7 separate regions of the Homo sapiens genome follow, and regions 1, 2, 3, 4, 6 and 7 are each linked to region 5. Evidence: promoter capture Hi-C in human tissues and cell types (Jung and others, 2019). All regions are on one chromosome and are shown on one strand. The core of a region is centred on a gene start or on the middle of the fragment in contact, and the rest is flanking DNA. Distances in the headings are between cores, read along the strand shown. Region 1 holds the start of TIGD3 (tigger transposable element derived 3). Region 2 has its middle 9.4 kb from the start of DRAP1. Region 3 overlaps POLA2 (DNA polymerase alpha 2, accessory subunit). Region 4 overlaps PACS1 (phosphofurin acidic cluster sorting protein 1). Region 5 holds the start of SIPA1 (signal-induced proliferation-associated 1). Region 6 overlaps GAL3ST3 (galactose-3-O-sulfotransferase 3). Region 7 holds the start of FOSL1 (FOS like 1, AP-1 transcription factor subunit).

Region 1 (3,447 bases), core at 851-3,350, 280 kb after region 5:
AGGCGGCAGACGCCACGTGCAGGGCGTCCAGCACGGTGATGCCTGCCCCGGCCTCGGCCAGCGAGGTGCCATCCCTCTCGCTTTGGATGGCAGCCAGTTTGCCCAACAGCCGGTGTCGGTAATGGGCCTTAAAGGCCCGGACCACTGAGCTGGGCAGGGGAGGCGTGGTGCTAGAGGCGGCCAGAGGCAAGAGCTTCACGTGGTAGAGCCCAGGCAGGCCTGCCAGCTCCTCCACCACTCGGGCAGCCAGCAGCAAAGCCACCTGTCGGCCCTGCTGTCCCATGTCCCGGTCAAACTGTGCCAACCACTCTAACCAGGGGATGCCCAGGTCCGGGTGGTAGGAGGCAGGCAGAGCCTCACTGCGGATCCCAAAGAAGCATCTCGGGGCAGCCTGGAGCCCACCCAGCAGTACCCGCCGCTTCTCGGTGCCCCTGCTGTTGGCACACAGCAGCACCTGTACTTGATCACATGCACCAAAGCTGCCGGGCACTGCCCGATACAGCAAGGGCAATTCAGCACAGCCAAACACGTCCTCTGGAGAGAAGTCTTTTAGGGAAAGAGGCAGCTGAGCCTGGGATGTGAGCCCCGGGGGAGGTGGCTCAGGGGGGAATGAAGGCGCAAGAACATGGCGGGCCCCAAAGCCGACGTTGTTTCGGCGTTTCCAGCGGACCAGCCAGCCGATGCTGGGCACGAAGTCCTGGCCCATGATATCGGCCAGCTCCTTGGCTTTGTGGAGCAGCATGGGCCCCGTCACGTCCCAGGCCTTGGCCCGGGCAATGTGGTACCAGCAGAGCAGAGCCTCGTCGATCCCGCTGTACTTGGACTCCCGCTTGCGCTTGCGCTCTCGGTTGGCTGTGCCGCTGCACCAGTCCGCCAGCAGCTTCTCCTTATTCTTGCAGATGCGCGAGATCTGGGGCTGGGAAACCTGGAAGCGCCGGGCCACCTCCGACTGGGACATCTTGGACTCATCCAGGAGTTCCAGCACCTGGATCTTCTCGGCCAGGGACAGGGCGTGAAGCTTCTTCTTGCTGCTCAGCTCCATGGCCTCTCCGGGGCACCTGTGCGGGGAGGAAAGATTGAGCGGGTAGAGTAATCTGAGGCCGGAAGAGCTAGGAAAGGAGCGCAGGAGGGAAAAGAGATTAGATGAGGACTTGCGCAGGCACCGGGTGAGACTGGACCCGCTGAAAGAGGAAGTGGCTAGGCCGAGTGGAAGCCGGCTGGCCCCGTCCCCAGGATGCCAGGGCAGAGCTGGGGAGGGGGCGTCTCTCCACTCAGAAGGACAGGGGAGTCTGGGCTGGGGTCTGGCCTCACTCGGGAAGAAGGATGAAAAGTGCAGGGGACAGCTGCAGAGATAACAAAGGCATACGGACGGGGGAGGGCCTGGGACTGGGGCCGAGGGGGCAGGTGTGGGGCTACGGGGCTGCGGGGGAGGAGCCCCCGGGAGGGAGTGGGAGGCGGCTTGGGCTGGATTCAGATGACGCCGCTGGGGGGTGGGAGGTGGGTGGATGCACACAGAGTTGAGGTGACAGGTGTACAGACGACAAAGGGGACAGAGGGTGTCTGAAGGAGCGAGGCTAATTTGGTGCCGGGTCCTGAGAGGGAGGCTAGGCGACGGTCAGTCCTGAGGGGAGCGAGAGGGCAGGGCCGAGGGCGCAGGTGCACGAGCGACAAAGGGCGGGAGGCCTGAGGAGGCTGCGGGCAGCGGAGGGGCGGGGTGTCCCCGCGGGGAGGGTGGTGGCCTGGGAGGGTCCCAGGGCGCGGGAACGAACGCCCGGACCCAGGCAGGCCGGCAGCCGGACTCCGTGCCCTGGCCGGTCACTCCCCCTCGACCCGGAGTATGTCGGCGGGGCGGCCCCAGGCGCCCGCCCGCCCGGCCTCCCGCTCCGCACCCACCTCAGGCGCTGGTCCCGCGGCTCCAGCCCCTGCCCCCAGCCCGGCTCCCGAGCCCCTGTCCGGGCGGCGACAGCAGAACAGGGGAGGGATGGGCGCCACGACCCCGAGGGCAGAGCGGACCGAGGGCCTGCGCGGACGGCGGGCGGGCGGGCGCGCGCACAGCAGAGTCCCGTGCGCGCCGCCCGCGCCGGGCTCTCTCCCGGCTGCGAAGTCCGCGGTGCGGCCCCTCTGCACCCACCCGCCGCAGCCCCGCCCCGGCCCAAGCAGATTGGTCCTCAGTGGCGCCCCGTCCCTCCCCCGGCTAAGTTTCATTGGACGTTGCGGAAGTGGCGGTTCGTCGAGCCCCTCTGGGGGCGGGGCTTCTAGCGCGGAGGGGCGGGAGGCGGAGCCAGGAACCAGCAGGACTCCCCTGGGCGCCTCCAGCAGCCGCCGACCCCGAGGGCCCGACGAGCCCTGTAGGTGGTGTGGTGACCGCCGAGCTGACTTGGCGTCCCAAAGCCTCCCTGGCCGTGACCCTAGACCGCATCGGCTTCTTCGTCTACCAAGCAGGGCTAACAGCCCTCACGGAATTGTTTTGGGAAAACGATGAAAGGAGAAAATGGATGCAAGCTTTAAGCCACACAAAAGCTGGTTACCATGGACAGCGCTGGCTCGAGTCTGTCGGCCACGGAAACACTGCATGCTTGGGCCAGTAATGATTTAGGACGAGTATTTTATTAGATTTGGTACTTTACAAGATTCAAGTTCTTAAACTCAAGATCTGGCATCGTTCCCTTCCCTGCTAACCTTCAGTCCCGAATTAAACGCAGACGTCTTGACCCGCAGCCCAGCTGCTCTCCAGCCTCGCTGCTCCCTCCGCTCACAGCTCCGCATCCTCTGCCTTCCTCACAGGCTTCCGTCCGCACCCCCGTCCTACCGGCTGACACTGTCCAACTCTCCAAGACCCATCTCAAATCCTACCTCCCGCAAACCCTTCCTAAATTTCCTCACCTAGGCCTGCTACAGCGTTCTTATTTTCCACATTTCTTTTCTGGCTCTCGGACTACTCAGCTGCCAAAGCGCATCCATTGCTGTACTCCCTCTCTGCCTGGCCTACTTCAGTGGAAAAGCATGAGGACGGGCTGCGCTCTGCTCCTCACACAATCCCCAGCCCAGAGCACCCTGCTTATTTATTGAACATAACAGTGCAGGCCGGCCTAGGCTTCCCATAGGCAAGGATGACTTTCAGAATGTTCTAGAAAAAAGGATACTTCAGGGGGCCCATAACTGCTTGATTCAAATCTTTCCTTTAAAAACATAAAAACAACAGTTGGACTTCTAAAACACACACTGAAGACATACGCGCTGCCACGTAAGCTCTCCACATGTTCACTTTGCCTTCAGGGAAACTGTGTGCACATCAACGTGCCCTGGGAAAGGCTGCAGGGCTGCACTGCGGGCAGTTCAGATCCTAGAGCACTTGCTCTGGCCTGGGAGCGCTGCAGGCAACTGAAGCCACACAGACCCTGCTCCTGCAAGAACTTTTGTGTGTGTCCCATGGTGATGTCATTAGTT
Region 2 (3,753 bases), core at 243-2,742, 290 kb before region 5:
GTTTTTTGCTTTGGCTGCCAGAAAGCTCAGAACTAAATTTGATATTGAATTAATAAAGCACTTTTACAGGCCTTTATGGGTTGCATATTTATATATGTATGCTATTGTTTCTGATCTTTATTTTCTCTTTTAATTATATTTTATTATTTTATTTAAAAAATTTTTTAATAATTTTTTTAGAGACAGGGTCTCACTATGTTGCCTAGGCTGGTATCAAACTCCTGGCCTCAAGTGATCCTCCTGCCTTGGCCTCCCAAAGTGCTGGGATTATGGTGTGAGCCATCCCATGTGGCCTAAATTTTTTTTTTTTTTTTTTTTTTCAGATAGAGTTTCGCTTTGTCACCAGGCTGGAGTGCAGTGGCACGATCTTGGCTCACTACAACCTCCATCTCCCGAGTTCAAGAGATTCTGCTGCCTCAGCCTCCCGAGTACCTGGGGCTGCAGGCGTGCACCACCACACCCAGCTAATTTTTGTATTTTTAGTAGAGACAGGGTTTCACCATGTTGGTCAGGATGGTCTCGATCTCTTGACCTCGTGATCCGCCCTCCTCAGCCTCCCAAAGTGCTGGGATTACAGGCATGAGCCACCACACCCGGCCTAAAATTTTTTGTTTTTAGAGATAAGATCTTGCTATGTTGCCCAGTCTGGACTCACATTCCTGGTCTCAAGTGATCCTCCCTCCTCGGGCCTCCAGAGTAGCTGGGAGTGCACCACTGGTAGCACGGGTGTATACCACTGCACCCATCCACATTCTTGAATCTCCATTTCTGTTTTTTAAATTTTACCTTCCTTGTTCTTGTTGGAAGCCACCTCAGGTGCACTGGGAATGTGGTTTGCAAATTAATCAATGGTATTTCATTTATTCGGCAAGCATACAATGATGTCTTGTAGTAGTCAGGTCTCTCTAGCATACAATTGGCCTAAATACATTATTAAAGATAAAAATAAATGTCTTCACCCATTCTCTGTTGCTTATAACAGAAAACCTGGAACTGGGTAATTTATTTAAAAAACGGAGTCTTGCTCTATCGCCCAGGCTGGAGTGCAGTGGTGCGATCTCGGCTCACTACAACCTCCACTGCCCAGGTTCTCGCAATTCTGCAGCCTCAGCCTCCTGAGTAGCTGGGATTACAGGCACCCACCACCACATCCAGCTAATTTTTGTATTTTTAGTAGAGATGGGGTTTTGCCATGTTGGCCAGGCTTGTCTTGAACTCCTGATCCCAGGTGATCTGCCTGCCTCAGCGTTCCAAAGTCCTGGGATTACAGGCGTGAGCGATTGCACCCGGCCACATGTGCTGTCTTGAGTCTCACGGCCACCCCTGACCAATGGCTGTGGGGAGGGTATCTTGACCAGCGGTCCTGGAGGTGCCACCTGGTTGGAGTGGGGTGGGCGTCAGTTCTCTAGGGATACGGATATGATTTGGGGTGGCCTGAAGGAAGAAGGGCAGGGCAGACCCATGCACAAAAACATGCCCACCACGTACCTACCACGTGCCAGGCCCTGTGAGACATCCTGGAGACACAGACGTGAATCCGACAGGCCCTGTGTCCCCAAGAGGGGCGCTTTCCAGAAGTGGAGGTGAAACCTGCAAGCACAGTTATCCCAGCCAGAGCATGGGAAGAAACTTGGAGAGGGGACAGGTGAAGGACTTGGGGAGTTCAAAGGATGAGGAGGGACTCTAGGTTCTGGCCTTGAGGAAGTAAGGTGAACTGAAATTGCCCTTTTTCTACAAACAGCTAAGAAACTGGACAAAGCACAGGAAACAAGTGTTTTCAGATATTAGACAAAGGGCAGCTCAGGGCTGTGATCCCTGAAAAACGGAAGATAAAGGGGAGGAGCCCTGACATTGCATAGGTGATTTTCCTACCACTGCACTGGGAGGGCAACCGTTGTTCTCACCGAGTTAAGAAGACGAGACCAGAGTTTGGGAAGGCTCATCTTCAGGGCTTCTGATCTAACTGAAGACAGGCCCAGATATGGGTATTTTAAAGTTCCCCAGGGTCGGCCGGGCACAGTGGCTCAGGCCTGTAATCCCAGCACTTTGGGAGGCCGAGGCGGGTGGATCACTTAAGGTCAGGAGTTTGAGACCAGCCTGGTCAACATGGTGAGAACTTGTCTCTACTAAAAATACAAAAAATTGCCAGGCGTGGTGGCGAGTAGCCTCCCCAGCTACTGGGGAGACTGAGGCAGAAAGGAGAATCACTTGAACCTGGGAGGCAGAGGTTGCAGTGAGCCAAGATCGCGCCACTTCACTCCAGTCTGGGAGACAGAATGAGACCCTGTCTCAAAAAAAAAAAAAAGAAAAAAAGAAAAAAAAGCTCCCCAGGGTTCTAAGATGTAGCCAGGGTTGAGAACCACTAGGCTAATCTGCAACTCCAGACAAAGGCGGAAGGGGGGCAGGGAACCCACAAAACAGAAACCAAACTCTAAGAAAACGGGTAAGAGGAAAGTGAAACCGACTCTGGGCACCAGGCTGGAATGGAAGAGCATCTGTGGCTAAAAACAGGGCAGCCGCACCCCCCTGGAGGAACCAGGGCCCTGCCCACCCACTTGCTTGCTGCGGCTTCAACACGCTGGCCTCCTCGGGGTCCCCTCTCCCCACTACCCCTGGAGAGGCGTGAATGTACCTATTTGTTTACCATCAGTCTGCTGCCCCTTCCCCCAACTGGACTGAGCTAGGGAGCAGAGGCTCTGTGTGTTTTCTCTGAGTTCACCTTCCCCAAGCCCAGAGCAGGGCCCGGCACAGAGTAGGTACTCAGCAAATATTTCTTGAGTGACTGAATGAAGACAATGTATGATCCCATGAATCCTGCAGGGCCATGCTTTACCCTGCCCTATGTGATGCTGTCCCCTGAGGTTGGGCCCATTCTGACAATGTCTTTTCTGTTTTTTCAACACAGGGTGCATAGAATCAAGCAGACATGCGCCTTAGTTTGGGGCACTCCATGCAGCCATAGGGCCCTGAAAAGCTTCCCTTTTCTTTTCTTTTTTGTTTGTTTGTTTGTTTGTTTGAGATGGAGTTTCGTTCCTGTTGCCCAGGTTGGAGTCCCATGGCACGATCTTGGCTCACCGCAACCTCCGCCTCCCGGGTTCAAGCAATTCTCCTGCCTCAGCCTCCCGAGTAGCTGGGATTACAGGCATGCGCCACCATGTCCGGCTAATTTTGTATTTTTAGTAGAGATGGGGTGTCTCCATGATGGTCAGGCTGGTCTGGAACTCCCAACCTCAGGTGATCCGCCCACCTTGGCTGCCCAAAGTGCTGGGATTACAGGCTTGAGCCACCACACCCAGCCTAAAGCTTCCCCTTTCAATGGACTCTCCCCTTCCCTGCATCCCAGTCCTACTCCTGCTGCTTTGAGCCACGACATCCCCTTGTCTGTTTAGTACATGCCCTTCCAATCTGCTTTCCAGGATCTTATTTCCATAAATGTCCATAACAGCAGGCACCATTTATTGGGTGCTTACTGTATGCCAGGCACTGTGCTGAGCGACTTACATATCATATCTCATGAAACCATCACATGTCCCTGAAGGAGGTGCTATTATGATCCCCGTTTTACAGATTAGAAAATAGAGATAGGCTGGGCAAGGTGGCTCACGCCTGTAATCCCAGCACTTTGGGGGGCCGAGGCGGGCGGATCACCTGAAGTCAGGAGTTTGAAACCAGCCTGACCAACATGAAGAAACCCTGTCTCTACTAAAAACAATACAAAATTAGCCGGGTGTGGTGGCGTATGCCTGTAATCCC
Region 3 (3,521 bases), core at 1-2,500, 360 kb after region 5:
CGCATCTGCCCATGCTGCATGTAAATAAATTCTTTTTGAAATCGTACATCTTTTCCTTTCCAAGGCAACCTTCAAAAATACCTGTTAAACATTAGTCTTTAAACAACATGCTTCATGTAGGCAGAACTCAGGCGACAGCACGACCAACGCTCACTGGGCTCAGACCAGGGGTCTTGTGACAAAAAACCTACGAACTCATGATGGTGGCGCCCTCACTGCTTGGTCACATTGCTCTTCAGCAGCTTCTGCAGCTTTCTTGGGCTTGGGAAACTGCACTCCTGGACTCATGTCTACCATCCTCATTGTTGGCAAAACAATATTTGAACCGAAACTCACCTGCATCCTCTTCAGTGGGCTGATAAAATGGAAGTGGCACACCCTAAAAACAGGGGAAAAGCTCAAGTAAGGTCTTGCGCCAGGCATCACCTTGGTAAGGAAAGGGGAGGGCACCAGGTTGGGGGTGGTGCAGGTGTGTGATGGGAGGACAGTGGGGAGGAGCGAGAGGGCAGGGGAAGGATGTGCCTCTGTCTTGCTCCCTGGATCTGATGGGACCTGCCATTTTTCTATACTGCTCAGAGGGCAAAGAAACCCAGGTAATGGGAGGTCACTACTCAATTGTCATAAAATACCCAGCAACAAGTGGGAGCAAAACAGGTGCCTAAAGTATCAGTGTACTTCTAGGCAAGGATGGGAGAGAATGGTTTCTTGCTACTTTTCCTGGCATTCTACGAAAATCTCTGGAGGATTGTTGCCTAGAGCAGGGATAGGTAACCTTTCGGCCTCTGGGCCAAATTTGGCTGCAGCCCACTATTTAAATAAAGTTTTATGGGAACACAGCCACAGTCATCTGTTTAAGAGTCCTCTATGGCTGCTTTTGTAGACAAAGGCAGAATTGAGTCATTGTGACAGAGACCATATAGCTACAAAGTCTAAAAGAGTTACTGTCTGGCCCTTTATAGAAAGGGTTTGCTGACCCCTGGCCTAGGGGTGGGTTCCCACTTACAGATGGAGAACTGACTAACAAATAAATGGGCTCCTAAAAAGGACCAGTTTCTAGAACAGACAGCTTCCAGACATACTTTGTCTGAAGCAAACCAAGAGGCAAGTGGGGGTACTGCTGTGTACCTCGTAGAGTTTGGTGGCAACAAGTTTCCTACCAGTGGTGTTGATTCCTTCCATAATTACAACCTGAAAGACAAAAACAAACAGGATTGCTAAGCAGTGGAGATCAATGAGGTCTGGAATACATTATTTTGAGGCAGTTAAAAGCATTGTCCAACTACTCTCATTCTGTAATCATAAACTTAGGGCATTTTTGTAGAAAACGAATTAAGGGCGTTGCATTAGTAATAATAATTATGCTCTATATAAGTGATCTAATTTTCACAACAATCCTATGAGGTAAGAATTATTATTTCCATTTTGTGAGTGAAGAAACTGTAGTTTAGATGGTTAAGTACCTTGTGCACAGTCATGCACCTCATGGAGCGGGGAGTTGGGATTTGAGGCTGCGCAGTCAGGTCCCAGAGCCTGGGTCAGAGCATGGGGGAAACAGGAATCCCAACAGTGGTGTCTGCTCTGGGGCATGTGCTCCAGCTGCACCCCATGGCAGCAGAGACAGGAACTGAGGAGCAGCTGCGCATGGCACAGCACCTACACTACAGGGGTAAAGAGTGCGCCTGCATTCTGGTGGAACTCCTCCAATCTCACCTGTCCAGGAAACAGAGAATATTCCTTAAGCTCAGATAAATCCACTGGAATTTGAGCACCCGAGGAATGTTCCCGGTCTCCCTCGAGAATCACTGACTTGTTGTTCAGCTTCCCGTTGCTATCACAGCCAATCTGGCCCAGCAGAGTGACAGGCTCCTACCAAAGGAAGGTCACAGCATAAGAATGACAGTCTTTGGAGCAGGAGCTCAAAATCTGAAGTCGATAGGGTGAATAGCAAAACAAACTGCAAACAACAAATACATTTCTTGGCAGGGCATTGCTTTGACCCTGAGGTGACTACCGCGTCATCACTGACTCTCAGGATGGAAGAACTCTGAAAGGGCATCTTGTCCACCCATCCACCCAGCACTTGAGCCTTCCTAGGAGGCTGCCTAAGTGTGAGCATCTCTAGTGTAGGGGAACTTGCCCCTGGATGCCTACCCCACCCTGTCCTCACCACCCCAGGGCAGCCCACTGCATCTTTGGGCAGCTATAACTACTTAATAATAGCTAACATTTCTTGAGCTTACTAAATACCATGCACTGTTCTAAAATGTATTCTTAGGCATTTTATATGTATTAACTCATTTAATCCTTGCAACAACCATCGGGTGGATATTACTGTATCCATTTTACAGATGAGGAAAACAAGCAACAGAAAGGTTAGATAATTTAGTCAAGGTCAAACTGTGGGTGAAGCTTGGGTTTGAAACCAGAAATTTGGCTCTAGAGCCATATCCTTAGCCACATACCATACAACCTCTTAACAGGAAGTTCTTTATTAATTGAGCTAAAATCTCTGTCTCCATGGCTTCCTCTGTTCTGTTCCCACTCTTGGGAGAAAACAGAGGAAGTCTCATCTTTCCCAGTGATTGTGCCTCCCTGCCTTCCCTCAATTACTTCCTTCCAAGTCCTCTAACACTTCCTTCTATGACACAGTTCTGCATCACTTCCCCAACTGATCATTCTTTGAATGTAAACATTGACAAAGGTACTTTAAAGAAACTTCTAGAATATATTTCCCCTTAGATTAGAAAACATTCTAGAGAGAAAGCACTGGTATATATGCCAGATTAAACTATGATATAAAGATACTATTGGCAGCAGTTTGTCTATAACAAGAGACCAAACCAGGGGAGAGACTGTGAGTCATTGTCCAGAGAACAAGATTCTGAAAACCCCACCGTCGCTGCTGTCCTTTTATCTCGATACGTGAATGCTTCTATTTGTGGGAAATCCCCGGGGAGCTACCTGACTCACCACCAAGGGAAACAAGGCCTTGAGTCTCTGCTTATGTGCAAGACTCTAATCCAAGTGGGAAGAAAATCACTCTCTGGCCACAAAACCAGACAGCACTTACAAATCTTTCTTCAGAAGGGCCCATTTTCCCAAATTCAACCAAGACAGATGTTCAAACTAGAACACAGACAAGAAGTGAAAAAGGAAGCAAGAAGGATGCCTCTTGGTCATCGATTTAAAAACGTAATATTAATTAGTGAGAACTATTAGAACAACTCTTACCTGTGCTGGGGCTAGCAAAGGAGTGAAAGCTTCAATCTTGTAATGTTCCTTGAGTTCGCTGCCAAGTTCTTCTATCTTACAGGTCAGAACTACAATCCCAGAAGTGGAAAAAAGTATTATGTTTAAGACATTTCACTTGCCAAGAAGAGAAAATACAGCACATTGTAAAATATTAAAGTCAGTCATTTTACAGAAGCAGGAAGGGTGCCTGGACATCTGGCCAGTTTAAACCTTCTAAAACCTTTGCCAATTTTCCGATATTTGGTTGCTGAATCTGGCCTTCCATCTGG
Region 4 (3,509 bases), core at 346-2,845, 440 kb before region 5:
CAAAGCCAGAGTCCCACAATGGCCTGTGAGATCACCTGTTTTACCTCTCTGACTTTATCCATTACTCTCTCTTTAATTCACCTGGCTCCAGCCAAACTGGCCTCCTGGATGCTCTGGAACCTGCCAGTACTTCTTGTTCCCTCTACTGGGGGGCCTCATCCCATAAAATGCACCCAGCTTACCTAAATGTGTGTTCCATGTGGCCGGCTCGCTTTCTGAGGTCTTTCTAGACCACCTTGTTTAAAACCGTGACCTCTTTCCTCTGCCCACTTATCCCCATCCAGCTTTATTCTTCCCGTCCAACACACCCTAATATTTGCTCACTCACTCACTACTGCCTGCTGCCCACCCTGTCCCCAGAAGGTAAGCTCCGCAAGAGCTGGAATTTCTGTCTGTTTTGTTCACTGCTCTCTCCTCAGTATCCAAGCAGTGACTGGTCTGTAATGTGTGCTCAATAAGTATCTTTCAACTAAATGAGGAAACAGTAAAGGTATGTGCAGGAAGAGTTACAAAGACTTATCCAAACCCACATGGTGGGGTAAAGCCAAGTGAGAAATCAAACTTTAATGTCAAAGCATTTCTGGCACATGGTTTTAAAGAGACTATAGCAATTTGCTGGCTTTTTTTTTCCTCCACATTTATTATAATTGGCAGAAATATCTAAATGACAAACAAGAAAACAGAGCCACAGTCCTAAACAGTCATTCTTCTATAGCTGTTCTCTTAAGTGGATTTAAATATAATGAAGCCTCTCCACACTTGATACAAGGCATTCATTTATCAGTGTGGCTGCCTTAGAACCAGGCCCTTCTGGAGCCTAAGTAAACATATCACTTGGCCCAAGTCCAAAGCATACAAAACCAACCTTCTGCCAGATCTTAGATTTGGGAGACCATGACCCATTTCCAGCCCAAGCTTGCTTCCCCAGTGAGATGATACTTTCCTTTTTCTCCATGGAGGAAAAAGTCAACCAAAGGGATTAATGGCCAGTGTTTAATAATTACGGCCATTCTTTTTATACTTTTTTTAAAAGGAGAGATAGGACTACCTACAAGTAATAAAAACAAAGCAATAATGACATTACATGCGTTTAATGAACAATTCTCCCCACTAACGGCAAGGGCATAAACAATTTATTGCATATCTTGGTGGCAGAGAGGAAATACAATTAAATCCATTAATAGCCACAGGAGTTTTTATGTTCCCAGAGGACCTTGGTTTCCAGAGTTGCTTATTCATTTTCATCCACAGCAAAAGCAGTGCATGGGAGAGATGACAGAATGCTGTCAACTACTTTCTACATATTTTAACTCTGAGGACATAATTTCATAAACAATAGACTTAAGGCATATTACACTGCCCCATTCCATCGCCTGTGATTTAAAGTACCAAACAAAAACCTGCTTGTGAAGACAATGTAAAAGGTGGCTGATATGAGAGCTGCTGCAGTATAAATATTATACCATCATATTCATAGTTTCACTGACACTCCTCAAAGATGTGAAGGTCATGATTTCTATGAACATAGATGCTCAGACATTTTATTTTATATTTTTTGAAACAGAGTTTTGCTCTTGCTGCCCAGGCTGGAGTGCAATGGCATGATCTTGGCTCACTGCAACCTCTGCCTCTCGGGTTCAAGCGATTCTCCTGTCTCAGCCTCCCAAGTAGCTGAGATTACAGGCGACCGCCACACGCCCGGCTAATTTTTTTGTATTTTTAGTAAAGATGGAGTTTCACCATGTTGGCCAGGTAACTCCTGACCTCAGGTAATCCACCCACCTCGGCCTCCCAAAGTGCTGGGATTACAGGCGTGAGCCACAGCGCCCGGCCTGATGCGCAAACATTTTACAAACAAACATTTTATCTATCTTCATAACAAATGAGGTGTTTTTTTGTTTGTTTTTTTTTAAGGTGGCCAGACATAGTGGCTCACACCTGTAATCCCAATACTTTGCGAAGCTGAGGTGAGAGGATCACTTGAGGCCAGGGCAACATGGCAAAACCCCATCTCTATAAATAATTTAAAAATTAGCCGGGTATGGTGATGTGGACCTTTACTTGGAAGACTGAGGTTAGAGGATCACTTGAGTCCAGGAATTCGAGGCTGCAGTGAGCTATGATTGTACCACTGCACTCCAGCCTGTGGGACAGAGTAAGACTGTCTCAAAAACAAACAAACAAACAAAACCAAAAAACTAAAGAAAGCAGTTGTGCCCCATGTACCAGTCTACACTCTTCATTAAGCCCTGATGTTTACCATGAGAATCCATTCATCATTAAGATCCAGATTCAAGGAAATGTTAATCTGTGTTTTATACATTCTTAAAGAAGAACCAGAAACAAGTAAATATAATTGTAGATTTCCAACCAAAATGGAAAAATAAAGTCCTGATGCTTATTAAAGGTGAAAATTAACATACACCCAAAGATCTACATGTTTCAGGAGAGACCACAAATGTATTATCAGGTTTCTCCTGTAAAAGTAGAATGTAGTTTTTCTATGGCTTGAGACACAAAAAGGAAAACTTAAAAAGACAAGAGAAAAAAAAATTAACTACATTTAAACCCTCATTTTCCTAGGAGTTGCTCAGTTTTCACCGGTGACAAATGGCAAGCTGTAAACCGGTTCAGTTGCTCTTCTGCTGCCAAACCAGGGCTAAAGAAGTCAGCAGGTAAAACAGGGAAGCTGTCAAGTCAAGCTGGCTCAAAACAAAGCTGTGGTTTGCAGGCGGGGCCTGTACCATCTCTTCCGTTCATATAAGCTGGCAGGATGTAGAAACAGGATCCCGACCCAGCCACTGCTTCAGAGAACCAAAATATTTTGTTTTGACTTTGTAGTCTAATAAGCTTGGGGTTTGGCAGGATCTGTGCCTCAGGTGAACCCAAGACCTTGTGATGGTCCCACCGAGGAAATCTGAATATTACCCTAATTCTAGAAAGAAAGCATGTTTGTTTTGTTTGTTTTGTTTGTTTTGTTTTGGTTGGGGGGGGCAGGGAAGACGGAGAAATTAGGTTGACAAGAAAAACAGCAACAGTAATAGCTGATATTAAGTGCTTTCTATGTTGCCACACACACGATTAACATGTGTTAATAACAAAATTAACCTTATTTAATTCTGATGATAATCCTGTGAGACAGGGACTTTTCTTTTCTTTCTTTCTTTTTTCTTTTTTTTTGAGACAGGGTCTTGATCTGTCGCTCAGACTGGAGTGCAGTAGTGCGAACACAGCTCACTGAATTCTTGACTTCCTGAGCTCACACAATCCTCCAGCCTCAGCCTCCCAAGTAGCTGGGACCACAGGCGTGTGCCACCAAGCCCAGCTAATTTTTTTTTCTATTTTTTGTACAGACGGGGTCTCCCTATGTTGCCCAGGCTGGTCTCGAACTCCTGGGCTCAAGCAATCCTTCCACCTCAGCCTCCCAAATTGCTGGGGTTATAAGTATGAGCCACCACACTCAGCAGGGACAATTATTATGCCCATTTACAGATGAGAAAAGTTGAAGC
Region 5 (3,599 bases), core at 1,100-3,599:
CACTGGTGTCTGGGTCCTGCCCACTTAACAAAGGGAGGACGTCCTGTCCCCAGAGACCTTCCTCCTTGCCCCTCCCACTTCCTTCAGGGTCCCTGGAGAGCTGATCACCCAGAGAGGTCTGATCTCAGTGCCCTGGACCTCAAGGCCTCAATACCACAAGGACACATGGGTTCCCAGGGAGGCAGCGGCAGGGCAGCAGGAATGGCAAGAGGACTTCCTTCAGCACAGGAAGTAGCCCCAACTGTGGGCCCAGCCCTCTGCCAGGCCCCCACATCCTGAGGAAGGTGCTGGGGTCACAGCAGCTGTCATGGGACCCCAGTCACCCTGCCCTGAAGGACAGGCCAACTCACCTTCTTGCAGGCTACTGTGCCCAGGCTTGGGGGCAAGAGGAGTCACAATGACAGGGACCCATAGGGACCTCTGCCTACCTGGTCTCACTGATGCAGACAGGGAGGTCTGAACCCCATGTGACAGATGGTCAGATGAGGTCCAGAGGAGATGCTCTTGCCTGAAGCAATTCCGTGTCAGAGCTAGGATGTGAGCCTGGGTCTGCCCATCTCCAGGCCCTAAGCAGGGCTGCACCTGCCCACTGCTGTCTGTGTGCGTAGGTTTTGGGGGGTGGGTGTTGGGCTGAGGTTCAAGGTCTCACAGGATGCAAGATTGAGACACCCAAAGCCCCAGGGACCTGCTAAGTGCGGAAACGTGACGCCAGAGGCAGGTGCAAATGGTGGTGTGAGAACTTGAGGGAAGCCACACCCAGGCAAGCCCTGGATGGAGTAGGCAGTGAGGACAGGGAGCTGGGGAACCTCCACTGGGGGTACAGGCATCTAATGGTGGGTCTTCATGCAGCATCCAGCAACATCATGCGGGGCTGGGCCGGAGGGGGGTGGAGGAGGGGCTCCACACACCCTTCGTCTGGGGCCTCCAGAACCAAGCAAGAGTCGGCTCCCCAGCCCAGGTGCTTCTACCTTGATTTCTCCTGAATAAACTCCCATGCTGACCTTGAGCCTCTGTTTTCTCATCTCTAAAATGGGGTTAACTGGCCGGGTGCGGTGGCTGTGGCCTGTAATCCCAGCACTTTGGGAGGCCAAGGCGGGGGGATCACCTGAGGTCAGGAGTTCAAGACCAGCCTAGCTAACATGGTGAAACCCTGTCTCTACTAAAAACATAAAAATTAGCCGGGTGTGGTGGTGCGCACCTGTAGTCCCAGCCACTCAGGAGGCTGAGGCAGGAGAATCGCTTAAACCTGGGAGGCAGAGGTTGCAGTGAGCCGAGATCGCGCCACTGAACTCCAGCCTGCGGGACAGAGTGAGACTGTCTCCAAAAAAACAAAGAAAAAAATTGGGTTTAATTATTTCTGTCCCCTCCCAAGGCTGCTGAGAGACTGAGAAGAATGAGGTGAGTGTCGCTAGCTATGTGTGTGTGTGACGGGTGTAGCCCCTGGCTCCATGAGCCAAGCTCTGGGCACATTCAGCGCTCGGGCCTGGGCTATAGTGTGTGAAGGAGTAGGAGGGCATGAGGGAGGGGGTCTGTGCAAGCCCCGCTCCTTGTGGGCTGAGCTCTGCACGCTTGGAAGTGAGATCTGTGCATGTGTGCACCCAGCCTGTGCGCTGCCTCTTGCTGTGGCCCAGTGCCAGGCTCTGGCGCTGCCTTGAGGGGTGTTCTCGGGCTCTGCCCCCCACCCTGAAGCTTCACACAGGGTCCATTGAGGCTAGGACATTCCTCCGGGCCTGTGTCACTAGGGGTGGGGGGAAAGGGCCGGCCCCGCCCCCACAGATCCGGAAGGCCTGGCTGCCCCAGGAGGAGGAGCTGGCCACTTCCCAGCACATCTGGAGGTCATGACCCCATTTCGGCTGCCAGGGGGCGCGACAGATGTTTCCTCCCAGGCCAGGCCAGGGACTGGGGTGGAGGCCGCCTAAGAAGAAGAGGAGCCTCAGAATAAGGGGGAGCCCCGCACACACTTGCAGTGTTGAGGGGGAGGGGGTCACAGTGCCGCCACCAGGAGTCAGGAGCCGCCGCTTCCACTCACCGGCTGGCTGGCCAGGCTAAGCCGTCACACAGAGAGAGTAGGAACGGCTGGTCAGAGACAGGGGGCTGGACATATTGACTCGGGACTGAGCTGGAGCCCGGAGGGAAGTTGGGAGGGTGCTGGCGGCGAACGTGGCGAGGACCCCACTCCCATACACATCACCCGGGCCCACGGCTAGGCCACCTCTCCCCTGTCGGGCCCGACAGTAGTGCCTCCCGTCCCCTGCTCCCGCCAGTACCTCTGGGGCTCCCGCCCAGCCGCCGCCGCCCGCGCTGGGGTCCCGCTGCCGCTCTCCCGCTACCGCTCCCGGCGCCGGCTCCGCCTGGGGGCGGGGCCATGCTGGGAGGCGGGGCCATGCCGGGAGGCGGGGCCGGCCGGGAGCTGTCTGCGGCGGGAAGCGCAGCAGCGGGGATTCCAGGCCTGGCGGAGGTCAGCACCGAGCAGTGCTCATTCTAAGGCCATTTCCTCTCCTGAGAAACTTGTGCCTGCCTTCCAGACCAACCGGGAGGGCTAGCGGAGGCCACCTAGCGTCCAGCTCCCGGCCAGCAGGTGCTCAAGAGTCTGCCACTATTTTATGGAGCACTTGCTAAGCACTGGGCCCTGGGCAACCATTCCACTAGCGCGCTCTCATTTATTCTAAAAACACCTTAGATAGGTGTCATCTCTTTACGCCCTGGAGCAGCTGAGGTGCAGAGAAAGGCTTTGGCCAAGAACAAGCCTGATAAATGTAGGAGCCACCAGACCTGGAAGTCTGACCATATGGTGGGAAATGGCAGACAATACCCTTCAGATAAAGGCTTGAAAAGGGAGCAGCCATGCGGTGAAGAGGACCCGGTTCTACCTGAACCCCACCTTGGTCTGCCCTTGATCTCTACTAGACTTCAGCCCCACATCCTTCACCCCTCTGCGTGCTTGTCCATCCCAACTTAGCCGCCTGTACTATCATGTACCCATTCCCAGGTAGAAAAAGAAACTGCCAACCAAAATCAAAAATAGTGTTATTAATTCTGATGTCTCCGAAGCACAAAAAAAAAAAAAAAAAAGAAAAGAAAAAAAAGGAAAGAAAGAAACCACCCTTCCCACAATTCAGGCCCCAGGTCCAGGCCAAGGGGGCCACACCTGCAGGCAGTGCAGGCCCAGGGGCTGAGGTGGTCCTGGCCACAGGCTCCAAGTGGGACCAGCCCATGGTTTGGCTCTTAGGGCCTGGCTGGGAGGCTGACTGCCTCCATCTGGGGAGCCCAGGCCCTGGACTGGGGATGAGAGAGATCAGGGGTCAAGGTCAGAGGTCTGGGTCACTCAGTTTTGGTACTCTGGCCAAGGCAGCCAAAGGTCAGGGTTCAGACATGTAGGCCAAAGCCACTCAGTTCTGTGGTCCAGCAGAGAGGCAGCAGAGCAGGTCCGTTACTGAATCCTAGGAGGTGGTCCAGTGGGCGCCAGGTAGCTCAGTACTGGTGTTCCAGCAGGGGCTGGGCTGCCGGGCTCTCACGCTCCTCAATAGGGGCAGGCCAGTCGCCCAGGGCACCCATAGGTGTGCCACTCTCAGGGGCACTGCTGTCCAAGCAAGGAATGT
Region 6 (3,620 bases), core at 885-3,384, 410 kb before region 5:
AAGCCCTGGCGCTAAAGCCACTCCACTGGGGAGACATGTACAAATAACCATGAGACAAAGACGAGTTAGGAGCAGGCAGAGAGACAGAGACAGGGCTGAGGGATGGGAGTGGCTACAGCCTGAAGGGCTGGCTACACCCCAGACCCTGTAATTCCACCCAAGACTAAGTTATCTGGAGCAGTGAGGAGATAGGGTCTTGATAACGGGAGGTAGGAATCCGATCTGCCCTGGCCTCTCTGCTTACCCCACCTGTTGGAGCTCTTTGCATCAGACCTGCTGGGGGCCAGATCCCATCTCCTCTGCCCACTGCAAACCCGTCTGCCTTCTTCTGCCAGGCTTCTCGGGAACACTGGCCCTGCTACCAGAGCCGCAGGATCCCCCATGAGTGCCTGTGAAGGGAGTCCTGGATAGTGAGGCCCTGGCTGGTCCAGGGGTGGGTACTCCGCCATGCCACCCATCCTCCAGCGCCTGCAGCAGGCCACCAAGATGATGAGCCGCCGGAAAATCCTGCTGCTGGTGCTAGGGTGCAGCACCGTAAGCCTTCTCATCCACCAGGGGGCGCAGCTCAGCTGGTAAGGGGGCGGGGCCCCAGGGGGGCCGGAGCTCCCCTCCCCATTCTTCCACCTGCTAGAAGGGTCCTGCTAGGCTTTGCTCCTCCCCTCTATTCTGAAAGTGCTTTCCCTTTAGGGCCACACAGCCTCCCTGGACAGGGACTGCTCTTCAATGAAAGGGCTGAGTGACTTGCTCAAAGTTACAGAATCAGTTAGCTGAGATCCGAATCCAGCTCAACTCCCCACAGCATGCAGCTAAGCATTTCCCCAGTGGAAACAACTTCTCACAACTTCCGTAGTGCTGGGCAAGGCCAAGTCCCCTCACTTCTCCGAGCCCCCGTTTTCTCATCTATAAAGTGAGACATGATATGTGTGACACAGCCAGTCACCCTCACACAGGATACCATGTGATTCATGGGAACCCCAACCCTACTCCTGACTCACTGTGTGAACCCAACAAATCCCTGCACCTCTCGGAGACTTCATGTCCCCATTTTCTACACTGTCTGCCCCTGAGAATGGTGTGAATGCGCCCAGCCCCCCTTGCCAGATAATTTGGTTTGAAATCCCAAACACCCATGTTTTAAGAATGAAGCAACAGAAATGAAAGCTTCACGAGGGCTAGGATTGTTTTTGTATATTACTGTATTTCTTGAACCTAGCATTAACCTGGCACATAGTGGACACCCAAAAAATATTTGATGACTGAATTAATGAGGCTTTAGAAGCCTCAAGAGAAACATAACAATGGGTTGCTGCAAAGCCCAGTGCCAACCATCTACAAAGTGAGGAGCCAGTTAAAGAGTAAAAATGAGAAAGAGCAAAAGGATTTAGTGACCATGTGAGTCGTCTCCAGACTTTGTGTAAGTGATTGTTCTCCTTTTGGCCCTCAGTTTCTACATATACAAAGTGGGATTCCTCAAAGATCTCCAGGGGTCTTTGTCCCTTATTTATTTCTACATAAACAAATTATCTTAAAGCTTAGCAGCTGAAAACACAAACATCTGTTATTTTGGGTCAGGAAGCCAGGTGTGGCTTACTGGGAACTTCTGGACCAAGGTCTTTCATGGGGTTGCAACCAAGGTGTTTGCTGGTGATGCAGTCTCATCCGAAGGCTTGATTGGAAGGGATCAGCTTCCAAGCTCACTCACGTGGTTTTGACAGGCTTCAGGTCTTCAAGCCGGCTGGTGGACTGAGGGCCTTAGGTCCTTGTGGGCTTTTCCCACTTAGTGGTAGCTCCCTATAGGGCTGCCCACTATATGGCAGCTTGCTTCCCCCATCATCTGTCATCCCAGATTGAGTGAAAGACACCAAGATACTAGCCAGCCACAGTCTTTCTATGATGAAATTTAAGAAGTGACATCCCATCATTTCTGCCCTCTTCTCTTCTTTAGATGCAATGATAAGTCCAGCCTAACTCAGGTGAGGGGAATACTCAAGGGCATGAATACCAGGAGGGCAGCAGGGATCATAGAGGGCATCTTAGAGGCTACCAAGCACCGCCCTCGACCTTTCCATGAGTGCAGCCCAGGCGGGGCCGCGCTGTGGGGCATCCCACAGTCCTTGGGTAAGGGCAGGGGTCAAGCGGCAGCCCCCTCACACCCTCCTCTCCGCACACTCCCTGGGCCTGGCAGGTACCCCAAGCTGTTCCCCTTGAGCTGCCCTCCTCTGCGGAACTCGCCGCCGCGCCCCAAGCACATGACTGTGGCCTTCCTGAAGACTCACAAGACGGCAGGCACGACGGTGCAGAACATCCTGTTTCGCTTTGCCGAGCGCCACAACCTGACGGTGGCCCTGCCGCACCCGAGCTGCGAGCACCAGTTCTGCTACCCCCGCAACTTCTCGGCGCACTTCGTGCACCCGGCCACGCGGCCGCCGCACGTGCTGGCCAGCCACCTGCGCTTCGACCGTGCGGAGCTGGAGCGCCTCATGCCGCCCAGCACCGTCTATGTCACCATCCTGCGCGAGCCGGCCGCCATGTTCGAGTCGCTCTTCAGCTACTACAACCAGTACTGCCCGGCCTTCCGGCGCGTACCCAACGCCTCGCTCGAGGCCTTCCTGCGCGCGCCCGAGGCATACTACCGCGCTGGCGAGCACTTCGCCATGTTCGCACACAACACGCTGGCCTACGACCTGGGCGGCGACAATGAGCGCAGCCCGCGCGACGACGCCGCCTACCTGGCGGGCCTCATCCGCCAGGTGGAGGAGGTTTTCTCGCTCGTCATGATCGCCGAGTACTTCGACGAGTCGCTAGTGCTGCTGCGGCGCCTACTGGCCTGGGACCTGGACGACGTGCTCTACGCCAAGCTCAACGCGCGCGCCGCCAGCTCGCGCCTGGCCGCCATCCCCGCGGCGCTGGCGCGGGCGGCGCGCACCTGGAACGCCCTGGACGCCGGCCTCTACGACCACTTCAACGCCACCTTCTGGCGCCACGTGGCGCGCGCGGGCCGCGCGTGCGTGGAGCGCGAGGCGCGCGAGCTGCGCGAGGCCCGCCAGCGCCTACTGCGGCGCTGCTTCGGGGACGAGCCACTGCTGCGGCCTGCCGCGCAGATCCGCACCAAGCAGCTGCAGCCGTGGCAGCCCAGCCGCAAGGTGGACATTATGGGCTATGACCTGCCCGGCGGCGGCGCCGGCCCGGCCACCGAGGCCTGCCTCAAGCTGGCCATGCCCGAGGTCCAGTACTCGAACTACCTGTTGCGCAAGCAGAAGCGCCGGGGCGGTGCGCGGGCTCGGCCCGAGCCCGTCCTGGACAATCCCCCGCCTCGGCCCATCCGAGTGCTGCCTCGCGGCCCTCAAGGTCCCTGAGCTCCGCAGGCCTCCAGGAGTATGGGTCCTGCCCTGCCCTCCCAGGAGTCCAGCCAGGGGCTGCCTCCATGTCCTGCCCCCATGAGAGCCCTTTCTTTTCAAGGGGCTTGAGTCCCTCGCTGAACTTTGGGGTACGCCTCCCTATCTGAGCCCCCGCTCCCGATCGTGGGCTGAACCTTGCCTTCGGGCACGGCGCTGATAGGCTGGATCCAGCGCTGGGCCACCCTCTCCTTCCCAGCTGGTTGGTGATTTTGACAAGAGGCC
Region 7 (3,759 bases), core at 940-3,439, 260 kb before region 5:
ATCATTATGTCTCCATTTCACAGATAATGAAAGAGGCTCTGAGAGATTGTGTGCCTCACCTAGGTCACACAACTGGTGAGCAGCCTAACCACATTCAAACCCAGACCCCAGAGCTGTCTGACCCCAGCACGGGTGTTCTGTCCACGGATCATACTGCCTCAAAAACACTCTCCTCTCCTTTCTCTCTCTCTTTCTCTCTCTCTCTCTCTCTCTCTCACACACACACACACACACACACACAGAGATGATGATGACAAGAGGGTGACAAGCATTGGGTCGCTCAAAGGCAAAGGAGAGGCACCAGGCTGGTAACCACTTTCTGAGTGCATAACACTTTATAGCTTACAAAGCATTTTCACATCTGTGATCTCACTTGATCCCACAACAGCTCTGTGAGATCAGCAGGGAGGCCCAGTTGAAGGAAGGTGACCTGCCCAGTGTCACACAGACAGAAAATGGTAGCTCTGGGACTAGAACCCCAGGGGCAATCTGGACTTCCTGGCTCTAAGTCCTGAGTGCACCCACAGGCTTCTGGCCTGTGTTCCCAAGGAAAGTAGCCCAGAGGGCAAAGCTAGAGCTGATGAAATGGAAGGACCGATGGAGAAGCAGGAGAGCCCAGCCCTCTCTTGATCTATTTACTTTGAGTCTTGCTCTGTCCCCCAGGCTGGACTGCAGTGGCGCAGTCACAGCTCACCGCAGCCTCAACCTCCCTGGCTTAAGCCATCCTCCCGCCTCAGCCTCCAGAACAGCTGGGACCACAAGGCAGGCGTACCACCATGTCCAGAAAATTTTATAATTTTTTGTAGAGATGGGGTCTCAAATGGTTCTTTCTGCCTTGGCCTTCCAAAGTGCTAGGATTACAAGCATGAGCCACCACACCTGGCCCCAGCCCTCTTTCTGTAGTCGTGTGACAACTGACAGCTCAGTACTCCATCTGGGCCTCAGTTTCCTCATCTATGATGGAAGTAATCAGAGAGAAGCTTTGGGATGGTGCCCAGCACTAACATTCTGGATGTGCGACAAGGTGTCTGTGAAGGTGTAAGGGCTTTGAAAATCTTGGCTGAGCCTGGGCTTGGAGTGCCCACGGCTGTGACTTGGCAACCTGTGCCAGCTACTCACTTAGCGACTTCAAGCAATTCATTTCAGCATCTCCCAGCCTCAGTTTCCCCATCTGTAAAACAGAGATGAGGATGATACCTGCCTCACATTCACTCACCTTTGACATACTCTCCAAACAAGTCTGGTGGCCACAAGCCTCCGAAAGGCACTGACCGTAATGAAGATGGCGTTTATCAGACCTCAGGACACCTGTAGTGGCCCTGAATTAAAACTCGTTATAGCTCCTGAAATTATCCTGAGTAATACTATTATATTGCATTTTATGTGGGGTTAGTTCAAAGCATTACCTTATCGCAAACATTTAAAATATACCACCCAGCCTGGGCAATACGGCGAGACCCAATCCCTACAAAAAACACAAAAATTACCTGGGTGTGGTGACGCGCGCCTGTAGTCCCACTTACTTGGAGGGGGCGCTGAGGCAGGAGAATCCCTTTAGCTCAGGAAGTTGAGCCTGCAGTGCGCCGAGATCGAGCCACTGCACTCCAGCCTGGGTGACAGAGACCCGGTCTCAAAAATATAAAGTAAAATAAAATATGCCACCATTTTTGTAACCCTGGTTTGTCATTTATTCACTTTTCATATACTCGAAGCCTTAAAACAAGGCCAGTGGAAAGACCTCACTCCACGAAGCTTTGGGTGGCGGTTGGCGTGGCTCCTAGAGATGTGATTCTTTCGTGCTATTTTGTGGGAGCAGAAACGGAGGTTAGCCCAGGCCTCGAGAGGGCTGGGGCGGGGCGCGGGCTCTGGCAGGTGCGTCAGTCCGCAGGGGAACCCGGGGCTCCACCTGGGCGCGGCGAGGAAGTTACACCATGTATGGGCAGCTACGTCAGGGGGGCGGGCCCGCAGCCTCCGGGGAACGCCGAGCCGGGCCCATCCCGGTGAAAAGGCTGCAGCCGGACTTGGGGAGGCGTCGCCAAGTTCGGGACCGACGGGCCAAGGCGGCGCGTCTCGGGGGTGGAGCCTGGAGGTGACCGCGCCGCTGCAACGCCCCCACCCCCCGCGGTCGCAGTGGTTCAGCCCGAGAACTTTTCATTCATAAAAAGAAAAGACTCCGCACGGCGCGGGTGAGTCAGAACCCAGCAGCCGTGTACCCCGCAGAGCCGCCAGCCCCGGGCATGTTCCGAGACTTCGGGGAACCCGGCCCGAGCTCCGGGAACGGCGGCGGGTACGGCGGCCCCGCGCAGCCCCCGGCCGCAGCGCAGGCAGCCCAGCAGGTGAGTGGGGCCCGACGCCGGTGGTCCCACGGGAGGACCGCGCGTGGGAGGCCGGGGTCAACTCCCGCACGCTCCGGGACTGGAGCGGGGAACCGGAGTCGGGGCCGGGCTGGGGGCTGGGGCGAGGATCCTGCCCCTCGCCGTCCGGGGCCAGTTGCCCCCACCGCGCAGCGGGCAGCAGAGACCCGCGAACTCCCCTTCTCCCAGCCGCCCCCTTCTCCCTCGCCGTCCGCGTCCGTCCCTCCGTCTCCGTGCCCGCTTTCTCTCCTCCTGCCCACCTCTGACTTCTGCGTCCACCCTGCTTCAGAAGGGGCGTGGGCGCCTAGGGTGGTCGCCTCGAAGGCTAGGAGGGTCTCTCCGCTTCGGGCTGAATTCCTGGGATCTGGAGTCTGGGCTGGGGTGAGGGTCCCCACACGGGAGGGAGGCGGGATCCGTCGGGAGAGCAGCTGGGCCAGGGTGGGAGTCCCGGCCCGGTCTGCGACCCTCCGCGTGTCCGTCCGTCTGTCTGTCCTTCGCCCCTCCGTCGCCAAGTCCCTATCGTTTCTCGGCCTGGGGAGTCCAGGGGGGTCCGGGCAGTGGAACCTGCCAGGTCCCCGGAGACCGGCCCTCGATCCCTTTGCCGAATGCGGCGAATAGAGACCTCGAGGTTCCGGGACGTGCGCGGGGTCAGGCTGCGGGCGACTCTCGCGACCCCACTCTCAGCCCCTAACGGCGCCCGCTGCCCGCCGGGGGGCACCCGGGAGGCTGCAGGTGCCCATTTCCTGTCGAGGGGCTGCGAGCACGTGTCGACAGGGGAGGGAAGGAGGGGCGTCCGTTCCGCCGAGTCACGGCGGCCGAGTCACGGCGGCTGAGTCACCCGGGGCGTCCCTCCCTTCCTGGCCTGGAGCGGCCCGGGCCCGGGAGTGGGAGATGCCGCCGGCGGTGCCTCGGACCCGGAACTGGGGTCACTGGGACGCCGGGCCCGCAGCGCTTGGGCTCGGGCTACCGCTGTCGGGACTTGCCTGGGCTTGTGGGCGCTTCCCGGACGATTGGGCGCCCACACCCAGGGCCCAGCGGCAGAGCTAGAACCCACTTCTCCCAGAACACTGAGCCCCATCCCAACCCACTCCTCAGATAGCTGGCTGATAGAATGGGAACAGGGACGTTGTGCTGGGCGCTTGCTACATCATTTACCATATTTCACGGAATCGAAGACCTCATCGATTGAAAAAAAAACCCACTATAACTTTATGCCACTAATTTTCTTTCCTTCTCTTTCTTTTCTTTTTTTTTTTTTTTCTGAGACAGGGTCTCCCTCTGTTGCCCAGACTATAGAGCAGTGGTGCAATCACAGCTCACTGCAGCCTCAGCCTCCTGGGCTCAAGCAATCCTACTGAGATCCTAGCTGGGAAGCGACCTGGCCACAGGCACGCACCACCACACC

What was found. The method cuts DNA at HindIII sites, captures the fragments that hold promoters and counts their contacts. A contact is called where the count stands out against the background at its distance.
Region 1: the fragment with the promoter of TIGD3 here is called in contact with the fragment with the promoter of SIPA1 in region 5 in 1 of the 25 tissues and cell types used here (spleen).
Region 2: a contact is called between a fragment that was not itself captured here and the fragment with the promoter of SIPA1 in region 5, in 4 of the 25 tissues and cell types used here (bladder, dorsolateral prefrontal cortex, lymphoblastoid cells and 1 more).
Region 3: a contact is called between a fragment that was not itself captured here and the fragment with the promoter of SIPA1 in region 5, in 4 of the 25 tissues and cell types used here (bladder, dorsolateral prefrontal cortex, lymphoblastoid cells and 1 more).
Region 4: a contact is called between a fragment that was not itself captured here and the fragment with the promoter of SIPA1 in region 5, in 2 of the 25 tissues and cell types used here (dorsolateral prefrontal cortex and spleen).
Region 6: a contact is called between a fragment that was not itself captured here and the fragment with the promoter of SIPA1 in region 5, in 2 of the 25 tissues and cell types used here (dorsolateral prefrontal cortex and lymphoblastoid cells).
Region 7: the fragment with the promoter of FOSL1 here is called in contact with the fragment with the promoter of SIPA1 in region 5 in 4 of the 25 tissues and cell types used here (dorsolateral prefrontal cortex, lymphoblastoid cells, spleen and 1 more).

Annotation. Positions count from the first base shown.
Region 1 is chr11:65,353,404-65,356,850 of GRCh38, reverse strand. It overlaps TIGD3 (tigger transposable element derived 3), which reads right to left and starts at 2,100. Exons shown (of 2, transcript NM_145719.3): 1 at 1,894-2,100; 2 at 1-1,058. The coding sequence starts at 1,042. DPF2 (double PHD fingers 2) reads right to left here. Exons shown (of 11, transcript NM_006268.5): 11 at 2,589-3,447. RefSeq lists silencers at 1,393-1,582, 1,643-1,812, 1,823-1,882, 1,903-2,222, 2,313-2,372. The HindIII fragment of the contact is 4,951 bases long and covers 1-3,447 here.
Region 2 is chr11:65,926,943-65,930,695 of GRCh38, reverse strand. No RefSeq gene overlaps it. Among named protein-coding and RNA genes, the nearest start is that of DRAP1, 9.4 kb to the right of the region's middle. RefSeq lists enhancers at 2,284-2,578, 2,293-2,722 and a cis regulatory region at 2,259-2,824. The HindIII fragment of the contact is 6,362 bases long and covers 1-3,753 here.
Region 3 is chr11:65,279,337-65,282,857 of GRCh38, reverse strand. POLA2 (DNA polymerase alpha 2, accessory subunit) reads right to left here. Exons shown (of 18, transcript NM_002689.4): 7 at 3,232-3,320; 8 at 1,711-1,866; 9 at 1,126-1,188; 10 at 337-379. Among named protein-coding and RNA genes, the nearest start is that of POLA2, 19 kb to the right of the region's middle. RefSeq lists an enhancer at 2,389-3,521. The HindIII fragment of the contact is 6,666 bases long and covers 1-3,521 here.
Region 4 is chr11:66,080,904-66,084,412 of GRCh38, reverse strand. The region is part of intron 1 of PACS1 (phosphofurin acidic cluster sorting protein 1); the gene reads right to left. Among named protein-coding and RNA genes, the nearest start is that of PACS1, 12 kb to the right of the region's middle. The HindIII fragment of the contact is 4,404 bases long and covers 1-3,509 here.
Region 5 is chr11:65,636,851-65,640,449 of GRCh38, reverse strand. SIPA1 (signal-induced proliferation-associated 1) reads right to left here and starts at 2,349. Exons shown (of 16, transcript NM_006747.4): 1 at 2,268-2,349. PCNX3 (pecanex 3) reads right to left here. Exons shown (of 35, transcript NM_032223.4): 35 at 3,011-3,599. The coding sequence ends at 3,472. RefSeq lists enhancers at 1,717-1,786, 2,738-3,528 and a silencer at 2,137-2,506. The HindIII fragment of the contact is 7,218 bases long and covers 1-3,599 here.
Region 6 is chr11:66,042,243-66,045,862 of GRCh38, reverse strand. It overlaps GAL3ST3 (galactose-3-O-sulfotransferase 3), which reads left to right. Exons shown (of 3, transcript NM_033036.3): 2 at 336-572; 3 at 2,186-3,620. The coding sequence starts at 448. The coding sequence ends at 3,356. Among named protein-coding and RNA genes, the nearest start is that of GAL3ST3, 5.1 kb to the left of the region's middle. RefSeq lists an enhancer at 221-420 and a silencer at 531-580. The HindIII fragment of the contact is 5,576 bases long and covers 1-3,620 here.
Region 7 is chr11:65,898,818-65,902,576 of GRCh38, reverse strand. It overlaps FOSL1 (FOS like 1, AP-1 transcription factor subunit), which reads left to right and starts at 2,189. Exons shown (of 4, transcript NM_005438.5): 1 at 2,189-2,336. The coding sequence starts at 2,238. RefSeq lists silencers at 1,798-2,397, 3,006-3,125, 3,091-3,318. The HindIII fragment of the contact is 4,995 bases long and covers 1,367-3,759 here.